Regions from separate parts of the Homo sapiens genome. Here regions 1 and 3 are each linked to region 2. Evidence: promoter capture Hi-C in human tissues and cell types (Jung and others, 2019). All regions are on one chromosome and are shown on one strand. Each heading gives the region's core, a stretch centred on a gene start or on the middle of the fragment in contact. The rest is flanking DNA. Distances are from core to core; before and after follow the strand shown.

Region 1 (3,414 bases), core at 144-2,643, 63 kb before region 2:
TGATGCATCGCCCACCTAACTCAGCAAGAGTGGGTTTCACGCAAAATGGGGCACACCCCACCCACGCCCCACCATGCCCTAACCATGGGCCTCAGCCCCATTGATCAAAGTGGTGAAGGATAATTTAATCATAAAGCCAACTCTCTTTTGTTTGGTTGGTTTTTAGTGCTTTAGGACCCTAAAGCATCTTTAGGTGATTTTTTTTTTTTTTTTTTTTTTTTTTTTTTACCGATAGCCCTATGAAGAAGGCATAACAAGACTTTACCACAGAGGCTACGAATAATACCTTTGATCCACTGAGCACCTACTCTGTGCCAGCCCCTGGGCAGGAACTGGCATGCATGGGCATGTATGATTGCACCAGAAATAAGTTCTATCATTGGCCCTGTTTACTCATGAACACATGAAGCTTGCTATGAAAGTTTAAGACACCCAAGGCCACAAGGCAGTCCCGTGGCCATGCCAAACCAGCCTGCAGCAGAGCAGGAATGCCAACCCCAGGTCTGTGCTTGAGCTCCTGTACCTCTGTCTCTGTGGCAGCACGAACAGGTGAGTTGACTGGCCCAAGGACAGAGAGATGATTAGACACAACCTGAGGCTCAAAGCTGGGTCTTCCCAGGGCCAGTACTCTTCCAATTGCCATCCAACTGTGTCTGCATAGAAGGGCAGGGGGAGGGGCTGGGAAGGGCAGGGGGAGGGGCTGGGGAGGCCAGCCCAAGCTGCATGGCACTTCCCAGCAGTTGCAGGAAAATTAAATGTGGTTTTCCTCATCATCGTGAACAACAGGGGTACAGGAAAACTGGGGGATAATGTCCCCATTAGCCTGTTTTCTTAGCACACAGAGGGAGAGATTTTAAAAATAAAATAAAACTACATCCCAATTTGATGCCCTAACCTACCAAAACAAAACACATGCAGATTTTAAAATGTAGAAAAATCCCATCAGAGTCAATTCAGTTATCCCCCTGCCTCTAACAGGTGTCCCATAACCAGGACAGATCACCTGGATGCCTGCCTGCCCTGATAACTGATGTTGAAGGTCAGCCACCTCCCCCTACCCTGACTTACTGCTTCCCCACCCCCGACCCGCCACACCTCTAACACACACTGACACATACTGACACACACACACTCTCTCACTCACACACACACCCCTGCAGCCCTCATCTCTTGTCTCTCTTGGGCTGTGAAGTAAATAAAGCTTGGCCTCTGGGGTCCCATTTTTGTACCTTTTCCATCTTTCTTGGAGGCCTGGCTCACGCAGGCAGGGGGCCGAGGCGCTCCTTCTCACTCACTCTGTTGGCAACCCAACCAGCCTTTAAACTGTGTCTTTTCATGTATAACAAAAGACCTTTCTTTTTGTCTTTAAAGGAACTTGGGGGGCCAAAGGGATGGTGGTCAATATGCCCAGGAGAGAGGGGCCCTCCAGGTGCCCTGAAATCAGGCCATGACAGAAGCTTATAGAAAACTGGATCCTAATAGTAACAACTCATTCTTATCCTGAACCTCCACCCCCTGACCTCCAACCCTTGCCTCAGGAAACTGAGTCAGGGGTCAGTGATTCTAGAAGCTCCATACCCTGCTCCTTTATTTCCTGTTAGAAAGAACCACTAGGGCATCGTGGCAAAGGTAATGAGCTTGGAGTAAGGAGAACTCGGTTCTAGTCTTGGCACTGAAGCTACATTGCTGTGTGACTTTAGGAGAGTCACTTCCCCTCTCTGAACTTCAGCTCATCATCTATAAAATACAAAGTGGGCATAGATGGATTTGAAGATTTTCCAGTCCTGGCCACCTCATTTCTGATTCTGTGACAAGGCAGTGTCCCCACCTGGCCCTGGCTCTGCTGTCCCCCTCTGGGGCCATGCTGGTGATTCCAGGAGGGGAGCAGGACACAGGAGCATTCCATAGGCCACTCCCTTGCTCGCCCCTGGCTGGAGCAGTCTCAGAAATCACCCCAGAAAGCAAGGGCGGCCCTGCTGCAGGCTGGCTCTACTAGGCAAATTACAGCCTCTCAAGGGTGCATATGACAAATGACAACTAAATGGTTTGCTTTCCCTATGCAAATGAAGCTGCCAATTTACATTCATTTGCACCTGATGGGTGCCTGAAATGGATGGATTTGATTTGTGCCTGATCTGTAAGTGTCTAATTTATTAATCAATGAAACGTCATGTACAGACTTGAGGATCCCCAGTTCCAGCCGGCCTCCCATATATATGTAAATAATGCAATCTCTCAATCTACTTGTTATGTAAATGTTAATATAAAACTGACAGAAATATGCATCTGCAGAACTTTATGAGCAAAGAGAACTGAGATTTACACATGCTCCGAGCCCACCCTTTGCCCCTCAGTTCCTGTGGTGCCTCCTTCCTCTTGCCATACTTTCTTCTTACTTTCCCCTTAGGTCAGTTGACCCATCTCACCTCCTCCAGGAAGCCTCGCTGCTCCAGCCCTCCCACACTGCCAGGCCTCCAACCACCAGCCCTGGCTCTTACAACCTGGACAATCTTGCTTTTTTCTGGCCCTGGAACTTTGCCCGCAAGACCACGTAAGACACAGTCTTCCCCCAAGTTCTCCCCTTTCCATTTCTGTGCTGAAATGAACCCCCCTCAGAGGGCCAGCTACACGTCACCATCTTTAGCAAATACACACTGAACACGAAGGCACGAGATCGGTGCTGGGAAGAGGGAGAGAGAAAAGGTTCCTGTTCTCAAGATTTTCCTGGTTTAATAGCAGTAGTGTTTTCTCGGCTATGTGCAGGGCACAGTTCTGAGCACTGCTTATGGGCTGACTGCGTAATTTGCACAATAATCTCTGCAACAAGAGTGCTACTGCTGTCCCCATTCCACAGAAGACAAAAACAAGGCTTCTTTTATCAGCTAGCAGAACCGGGGTTGAATCCAGCCAGCGTGCTCCGCAGCTAGTCACAACACTACAGTTTGGCCTTTACCCAGTGAGCAAAAAGGTCATTTCAAGCAATGGTGTGTGTATGCGTCACCATTCCAAGTGCCAAATTCAGTCTCTTCTATAGTTTTCCTTGAAGAGGCCACAGAACAAACCTTAGCAAAGACAGAAAATGACAACTTTTGCCTCCTCCCAGTTCTGATCTGCCCTGTACTGGTTTCCTAGCTTATGCTCCCAGGAAGGCGTGACCTTACCTGGATCTTGTGAATGAGTACCTGTCTTTAGCACACCAGTTCTCCACACCTGCATGACGTTCTCTCCCCTGCCCTGGAGCTCTGGGGGTTCCACCATGGCAGCATTCTCCATATCTGACTCCCACTCTCTGTCCACTGTGAGGGCTAGGCCAGCTCTTCCCCAAGAGCTCAGCAATGTGCCCAGCACTCTGCAGACCTGTGTGGCCAGTGGGTGGCTTCCTTTTGGATGTGGCCATCCGGTCCCTCCCCACTC
Region 2 (3,547 bases), core at 462-2,961:
ATAGAACCTCTAGCCCTGGCCCCTGGGAACTTCACAGCCCAGGGAATGGCAGTTTCCTCCCTAGCTTTGCTCCTCCCCAGCAGCAGGGGGTCAAATTCCTGAAGCTTCCCCCTCCCCCAGTACTAGAAGGCCAATCAGGCCATGGAGGCCACAGCTGCCACCTCCCTGAAACATACACATGCGTACACACACACACGCGTACACACACACACACACACACACACTCCATTGTGGCCAGGGGAGGGGGTCATCATCTATAGCCATGCCTGTAACTCCAACTCAAGAGTGCAGGCTCTGACATGTTCCCTGTCCCTGCAGGTGTCTGTCCGTCTGCAGCTGTCTGCTGTCGCCGGGTGCATTTGGCAACAGTCTGGCTCAGTCCCTCTGCGGTCTCCACTCAGGCTCTCTTCTCCCTCCTGCTCTGGTTTTCAGAGGCTCTATCTCCCTAGAACTCTCTGTCTCTGTCCTTTGTACCGGGCTGATGGGAAGACGAGTAGGACACCTCCCTCAGAAGGTCTGTGCAAAGTAAGGCACTGTCCACCTCGGAACGGTCTACTGCTCTCCCTCCTCCCTGCCCAGGCCAACCTTAGAACCAGGGCAGGGCTGGGTGGGAGACAGAGACCTAGGAACCCAGGCATGGCTAATGCCACTTTCCATATTGCTTCATCATGCCATTCTGATGCCCCAAGCTGCACACACACACAATCCCCCTGATCTGCTTTCTGCCTGAGGCCAGCATAGGGTCCCTGAACCTGCCCTACCTGCCCCCACAAACTGCAACCATGCCTTCCTTCCTCCCATCCGCTCTGCATCAACCCTTCCGCACTTGGCTTTACCCCACCCCACCCAGTCCACAGAGCTCAGGGAGTCCCCGGCGCCCCCACCTAGCCCCCAGCAATGGCTCTAGCCAGGCCTTGCATGTGCGGAGATGCAACAGAGTGGTCTGGCGGCAAAGTTCTCCTGCTGTTTTCAACGGTTCCATCCACCCGTGGCTCCCCGTCTCTCCATCCGGCTCTCCAGTCTCACATGGACCCGGCTCTCCCCGCTCCCCGCCAGAGTTTCACCCCCACTGTAGGAAATAAAGACTAAAGAAAGGAAAGGAAATCTCTCGCGATAAGGATGGGCGAAAAGAGAAGGGGGTGTCCGCATGAGCACCTAGGATGCGGGGAGTCTTCAAGAGAAAAAGAAAGGGATGCAAAGTTCCCGGTTCCCTCGGGTGCGTTCAGCCCCGCGCCGAGCTCCCGCGGACACCCGGGATCGCAAAGACGCAGCGCCGGCGACCACTCACCTGGGCGAGGCAGCATCTACCCCCGGCTGGGTGGCACCGAGGCCGGCTCCGCGGGGCGCCCGGGCTCCCCGGCTCGGCCACGCATCCTTCCCCGCCCGAGACAGACTCGAGCTAAACCCTCCGGCGGCTCCGGCGAATGCAGGCAGATGGTGGCCTCGGACGTCCACGCGGGGAAAGCCCTGAGCCGCTTATTCAGTTATATCCATGGCATTTAGCAAGAAGAAGGGGGGAAAAGCACAACTTGTTCTCTTCTCTTCCAGATTAAAGAAAAATAATAATAATAATCCCTCCCTAGGAGGATGCCGGTAGGATTTTCCGGATCGAAGAACCCCAGGCATTCCCAGGAACCTCGGGCATCTTGGAATGTGGGGTGTCTTCAAGTTCAGACGAGCCTGCCGGGTTGTGTATGTGTGAGTGTATGTGTGTCTCAGCGAGAGGGAGCCAGGCACTCACACCCACACGCACACACAAACACACTCCCCCGTACTCCCCGCATGCACACTGCCCCCCACGCGCGCGCGCATACGCGCGTACCCGGTTTCTCTCTCCGCTCCACACACACACACACACACACACGCACACACACACACACACGGATCACACGCTCCAATCTGGGAGGGAGTCGGGCGGGCTGCGGAGACAGCGCAGGGCCAGCAGTGGAGAAAACCCAGCGGCCAGAGGCGCCCAGGAACCCGGCGGCCGTGCGCACCGTCCCCGCCGAGCTCTCCGGCGCGGCAGCCCCCAGTGGCGAACCGCGGAGCTGCAGGAGCCGAAGGCAGCCTCTGCGCCCGCTGCCCTGCCCGCTGCCGAGCGCACCCGCTTCCGAGACGACCAACACCGCCGCGGAAACCAGAGGGATTCACGGTCCTGGCAGGGGTGGCGCGGGGACGCACGGTGGGGCGGGAGTGGGCTGGGGCCGCAGTCGCGGAGGGAGGTGGGCAGGCCGCGAGCCCCGGAACCGGGAGGGCGGTCTCCGCGGTCCAGCGGCACGGGCAGCCCCTGCGGAAGGCGAGCCGGGCGGCCAGGGCTGCACCTCTGCAGCTGGCGACGGCGCTGCCACCTCACGTGCCTAGCGCGCCCTGCAGCCGTCAGCCCGCCGCCTGCTGGAGGAAAACCCGACCGCGCCGGCCCTAGGCTGGGAGTGGGGGCTGGGGCGATCGCGCCCACCCAGTCCTGGGGCCCAGTTCAGATTCTCGAATCCTGGTAAGGGACCTATGAATAACGAGCGCCCCGTGCACGCACACACACGCACTTTGACTTTTCATGATTATTACAAGAATCAGTGAAGGGTGCAGTGGCGCCAAGTGTTTGCACAGCATCTTTACAACTCTTCACTTGTTTGATCTTCTCAGCAACCCTCATTTGATGTATAAGGAAACTGAGGCCCAAAAGAGTAAAGTGACTTGTCCAAGGCATGTGGTAGGTAGCGGAGACCCTACTCAAAGCAGACTGTGAGCTCACAGTCAGAACACCCAGGTCTGGCCAAGGTCTCGTCTTTGGTTATCCTCTCGGTTCACTATAAACAACTAGTTACCAGAAAGGTAGGACCGTCCTCTGCCTTACTGGACTCCCCAAGAGGCATTTCCTTCCTTCTAAAGGAAATGAAATTTTGAGATTCCTGTTGGTACTCCAGCTGGTAAATCCAGGGGCAGGAAGAATGTCAATGTTGCAGTCCTTCTCTTCTCTCCTGGTGGCTAACACATCCCGTGCACCTGTCCCGGTTACCCACAGGGAGGCACATGTTGCATGTGGATGTGTCTCTGCAGCCCAGGATTGGCTCGGCTGGATACATCTGTAACATACGACCCTGTGTCCTCTCTACACACATGCATAACTGCAGAAGCCGAGGCAGCTGGTCCTCATGTGTGCACCCTCCACATGTGCACCCCGGGAAACTGCCAAACTGGCATGCTGCATATCCTTGAAGACAAGCCTCTCCCTGCAGGAATTCTGGAAAGCCTGGTGGGGGAGGGGCATGGCCAAGATGAAACTCAAGGTATATGGGGTGGGCCTTGGAGAGAAGGGATCTAACTCAGGAGCAGGGAGTGAGGGATAGAGGTAGGGAAGAGTCATGAGAAGGAAAGTAATGAGGAAGGAAGAGGTGAGTAAAAGGAGGTGTGGAGTAGAAACTGGGGAGGGCAAGTAGGGAAGAGGAAGGGGAAGGGAAGAAGGAGGGGAGAACAGCAGGGAAACTGCCTTACTCTTTGCTTACCTGAGGGCTTGCCTACTATTGGCGGGAGCTCCCAGGAAGAAAGGCTT
Region 3 (3,248 bases), core at 132-2,631, 47 kb after region 2:
ATTATTTGCTTTTGTCTTAGTCAATCTTAATTTTCCAGATATAGTGACAGAAATGCATAAAAGCACAGCCTGCCTGGACAGGAAGAGAGTTTAGTCTTCATCTCATGCAGTGGTTCTCAAAGCATGGTCCAGGGGCCTCTGGGGCCAGTGAAGTCAAAATTATTTTTATAATAATACCGAGGTGTCATTTGCCTTTTTCACTCTGATTCTTTCACAAGCATTCAGTAGCATATTCCAGAGGCTGCATGACATGTGATATCACAACAGATTGAATGCAAAAACAGGCATGCAAATCCAGCTGTCTTCTGATAAACCAGACATGAAAGAGAGTTCCAACAATGGAAAACAAGACCACTGTTTTTACAAACTTTTTTTGTAAAATAGTTATTTTTTCATAAAAATATCATTTGTATTACTATGCAAAGGGTTTATGATTTTAAAATAATAATATTTTATATAAATATTTTAAAATTTCTCTGAAGATGAAAGTATGTGTAACTCATATAAATGAAAGCTCTTTAGACTCCTTGATAATATTTAACAGTGTAAAGGGACGCTGAGACAAAAATGCTTTCAAACTGCTGATCTAGTGACACGATGGTTGACCCAGGGCAAGGAGATAGGCACTCATTTAGCTGGGACTGTAGACAGAGGCATGGAATTGGATTAGCTGATCACAGTAACAGCAAATATGTACAGGTGCCTGTAACAGGATAGGTGTTATGCAGAACATTTACACCTGTGACCTTGCATCATTTTCACAACAACTGTTTATCTTACAACTTTCCTATGAGATAAGCAGATAGACACTGCAATACCCATTTTGCAGATGAGAAAACCATGGATTAAGTAAGACAATCCTCTGCCCAAAGTCTTACAGCCAGTAAATGCTCAAGTCAGGATTCAAATCTGACACCAAAACTAGTGTTTCTGAATCTGGTGTCTTAGCCTCTGAACTTTCATGGAGTCAAAACTTGAGCCCCAACACTTACCAGTGTTTGAACTTCAGTCCATACTCTGAGCTCCCTGGGCCTCAGTGTCCTCATCTGAATAATGAACATGGAAATATCTAGGTTGTGAGGATCAGTGGAAATCACAGATGCGAGAACCATATGTAAATAGTAAAGTTGATGTGATTATTATGACCCCTGCCTTCCAGCTGTGGTCTCTTTTGTGAGGACAATTTTGGGGATGGTTGTGAACATTAAAAGTATGGACTCACTTTCATGTTTGAACATGTGTGTGTATGCCCACACGCACACACAAGGTGATATGTGGCATACACATTTTTATATTAATACTCAGAGATATACTTCAGCCTGTAAATCTCTTCTCTCTCTCTCTCACACACACACACACATGCACGCACGCACACACACACACACAGTCTCAGCAGCTTTTGTGGAGGCAGAGACTGGCTTAGCAGGGTTAATAAATGCACCAGCATCCCCACAGCTAGAAGGAGTATCCAGCACCAGGTACTTGGCAGTGGGCCACGCCCCACCCCCATCTCTGGACCACAAACAGTCAACAGCACTGGAGATGTGACAGGCCTTTTCTGAGTTTTTTCTCTTTCAGCACAAACCTAAATAAGCACCATTTCCAGGCACTATTTTGTGAGGTGAGTAATAGAGTCTGAAACAATTATTAGATATTTACTGTAGCAAAAGCACTGAACTGAGATGTGCTTTAAAAACACTAAACAGTAAACCAGGGAGGAAGATAGAGTGTCTGGGATCAACTCTGGAAGAGGCAGGCAGTGTCTCAGGCTGTGGCCCTGCTGCTGGCTATGGCTTGGAGGTTCCAGTGCCCTCTTCCCTCTTAGCCTTTGCAGTGGGGGGAAGAATCTGGTTTATGCCAGCTCCCTGCCCCGATTCTTAACCAATGTGTGTCCTTGGGCAAGCCACCTACCCTCTCTGGGCCTCAGTTTTCTCTACTATGCCCTGAGGGTTGACCAGATGACCCATATAATTCTGTGACCCCTGCAAAGTATGTCTCTGTGGTTTCACTGTACTGGGGCTAGTGTTCCCTGGAGCAAAGGGTCAGAAGTGAGTGATGGGAGAAAGGATGAGCCAGAACTTTAGACCAGGGTTTCGCATGCCTCTTACGCATCTCCCAGCTCCCCAGGAAGTCTTATGAAGTATATGCATAGGGTGTTGGGGTTGCTAAGGATCAGCTCTGGCAGGGACAAAAGCCAAGAAATGGAGGCAGGGACAGAGGGAGAGACCCATGGAGGAAACAGATGAAGGCACTTTTCTGGTCCCTTATCTCTCCACGATCACTTGCCCCTAGCTCCCTTGTGCCTGCACAACTTTGCCCCTGAAGTCCCTGCACTCACCATGCCCATCTCCCCATGACTATCCCTCCCCCTCCACTCTCTGAAATCATCTCCTCCCTCTCTCTCCTTTCTAGCTGTTGACTCTGGCTCTCAGAAACCCAGAACTATATTCCAGGCTCACCCGCAGTGGCCTTCTGGTCCTAGAAACTTGGACACGCCTATTTATCTTCTCTTGCCAACTCTTCTGTGAGGTGGAAAGAGCTTTTGCTTTGCAGTCAAAAGGTATGGCCTCTAGGTCCACCTCTGTCACTTACCACTGGTGGGCCCTCAGGCAAGTTCTTCTCTTTTTGAACCTCAGTTTCCTTATTTGTAATTTAGGGCTAAAATGAATACTTCTTCACAGGATGTTTTGGTGACTACACATGAAGGCACTTTGTAAGCTGATATGGTGCTTAAATGCTATAATTTGACTGCATTGTGCTTGATTTAACTTAATTTTGTTATCCCCTTTAGAGCCCTTGTGAAAATAGCGAGGTCTGCACACACAGGCATATTTTGGAGAGAAAGCCTATCTACCTTCCATGGGGCCCTTTACTTTTACACACATGCACATACTATACACACACACACACACACACACACACACAGAGAGTTGAGGCTCCAAAAATAGACTTAAGAGAAGGCAGGTGAGGGGGGAAGGGTGGTGCACATCCCTACAGGGAGGGAGGAAGGACAGGGAGAAAGAGAGAATGTTTCCCTTGCCCTTGCCCCTGCCCGTGGGTTTTCTCACCTGAATGTCCACAAGTGGGTTGAAAGATACTCATTGTTGGCTGAATTGTATGAAAAGACTCCTAAGAAGTGCACCCTCCAAACTTGCCTCCTCTCAGTACCTCCTTAGTCATATGCATTATCTGAGTGTGGAAATTCTGCCTTCTAGAACTGGGGAGGGAGACAGCAGGTATCCTCCAGC

What was found. The method cuts DNA at HindIII sites, captures the fragments that hold promoters and counts their contacts. A contact is called where the count stands out against the background at its distance.
Region 1: a contact is called between a fragment that was not itself captured here and the fragment with the promoter of LRFN2 in region 2, in 1 of the 25 tissues and cell types used here (H1 embryonic stem cells).
Region 3: a contact is called between a fragment that was not itself captured here and the fragment with the promoter of LRFN2 in region 2, in 1 of the 25 tissues and cell types used here (IMR-90 fibroblasts).

Annotation. Positions count from the first base shown.
Region 1 is chr6:40,523,309-40,526,722 of GRCh38, forward strand. All of the region lies in intron 1 of LRFN2 (leucine rich repeat and fibronectin type III domain containing 2), which reads right to left. LOC105379699 (a long non-coding RNA gene) reads right to left here and starts at 657. Exons shown (of 3, transcript NR_182434.1): 1 at 524-657. LOC105375051 (a long non-coding RNA gene) reads left to right here and starts at 686. Exons shown (of 3, transcript XR_007059918.1): 1 at 686-1,039; 2 at 2,408-2,551. The HindIII fragment of the contact is 3,524 bases long and covers 1-3,155 here.
Region 2 is chr6:40,585,653-40,589,199 of GRCh38, forward strand. LRFN2 (leucine rich repeat and fibronectin type III domain containing 2) reads right to left here and starts at 1,712. Exons shown (of 3, transcript NM_020737.3): 1 at 1,289-1,712. RefSeq lists silencers at 1,885-1,984, 2,075-2,144. The HindIII fragment of the contact is 16,487 bases long and covers 1-3,547 here.
Region 3 is chr6:40,633,173-40,636,420 of GRCh38, forward strand. No RefSeq gene overlaps it. Among named protein-coding and RNA genes, the nearest start is that of LRFN2, 47 kb to the left of the region's middle. The HindIII fragment of the contact is 6,259 bases long and covers 1-3,248 here.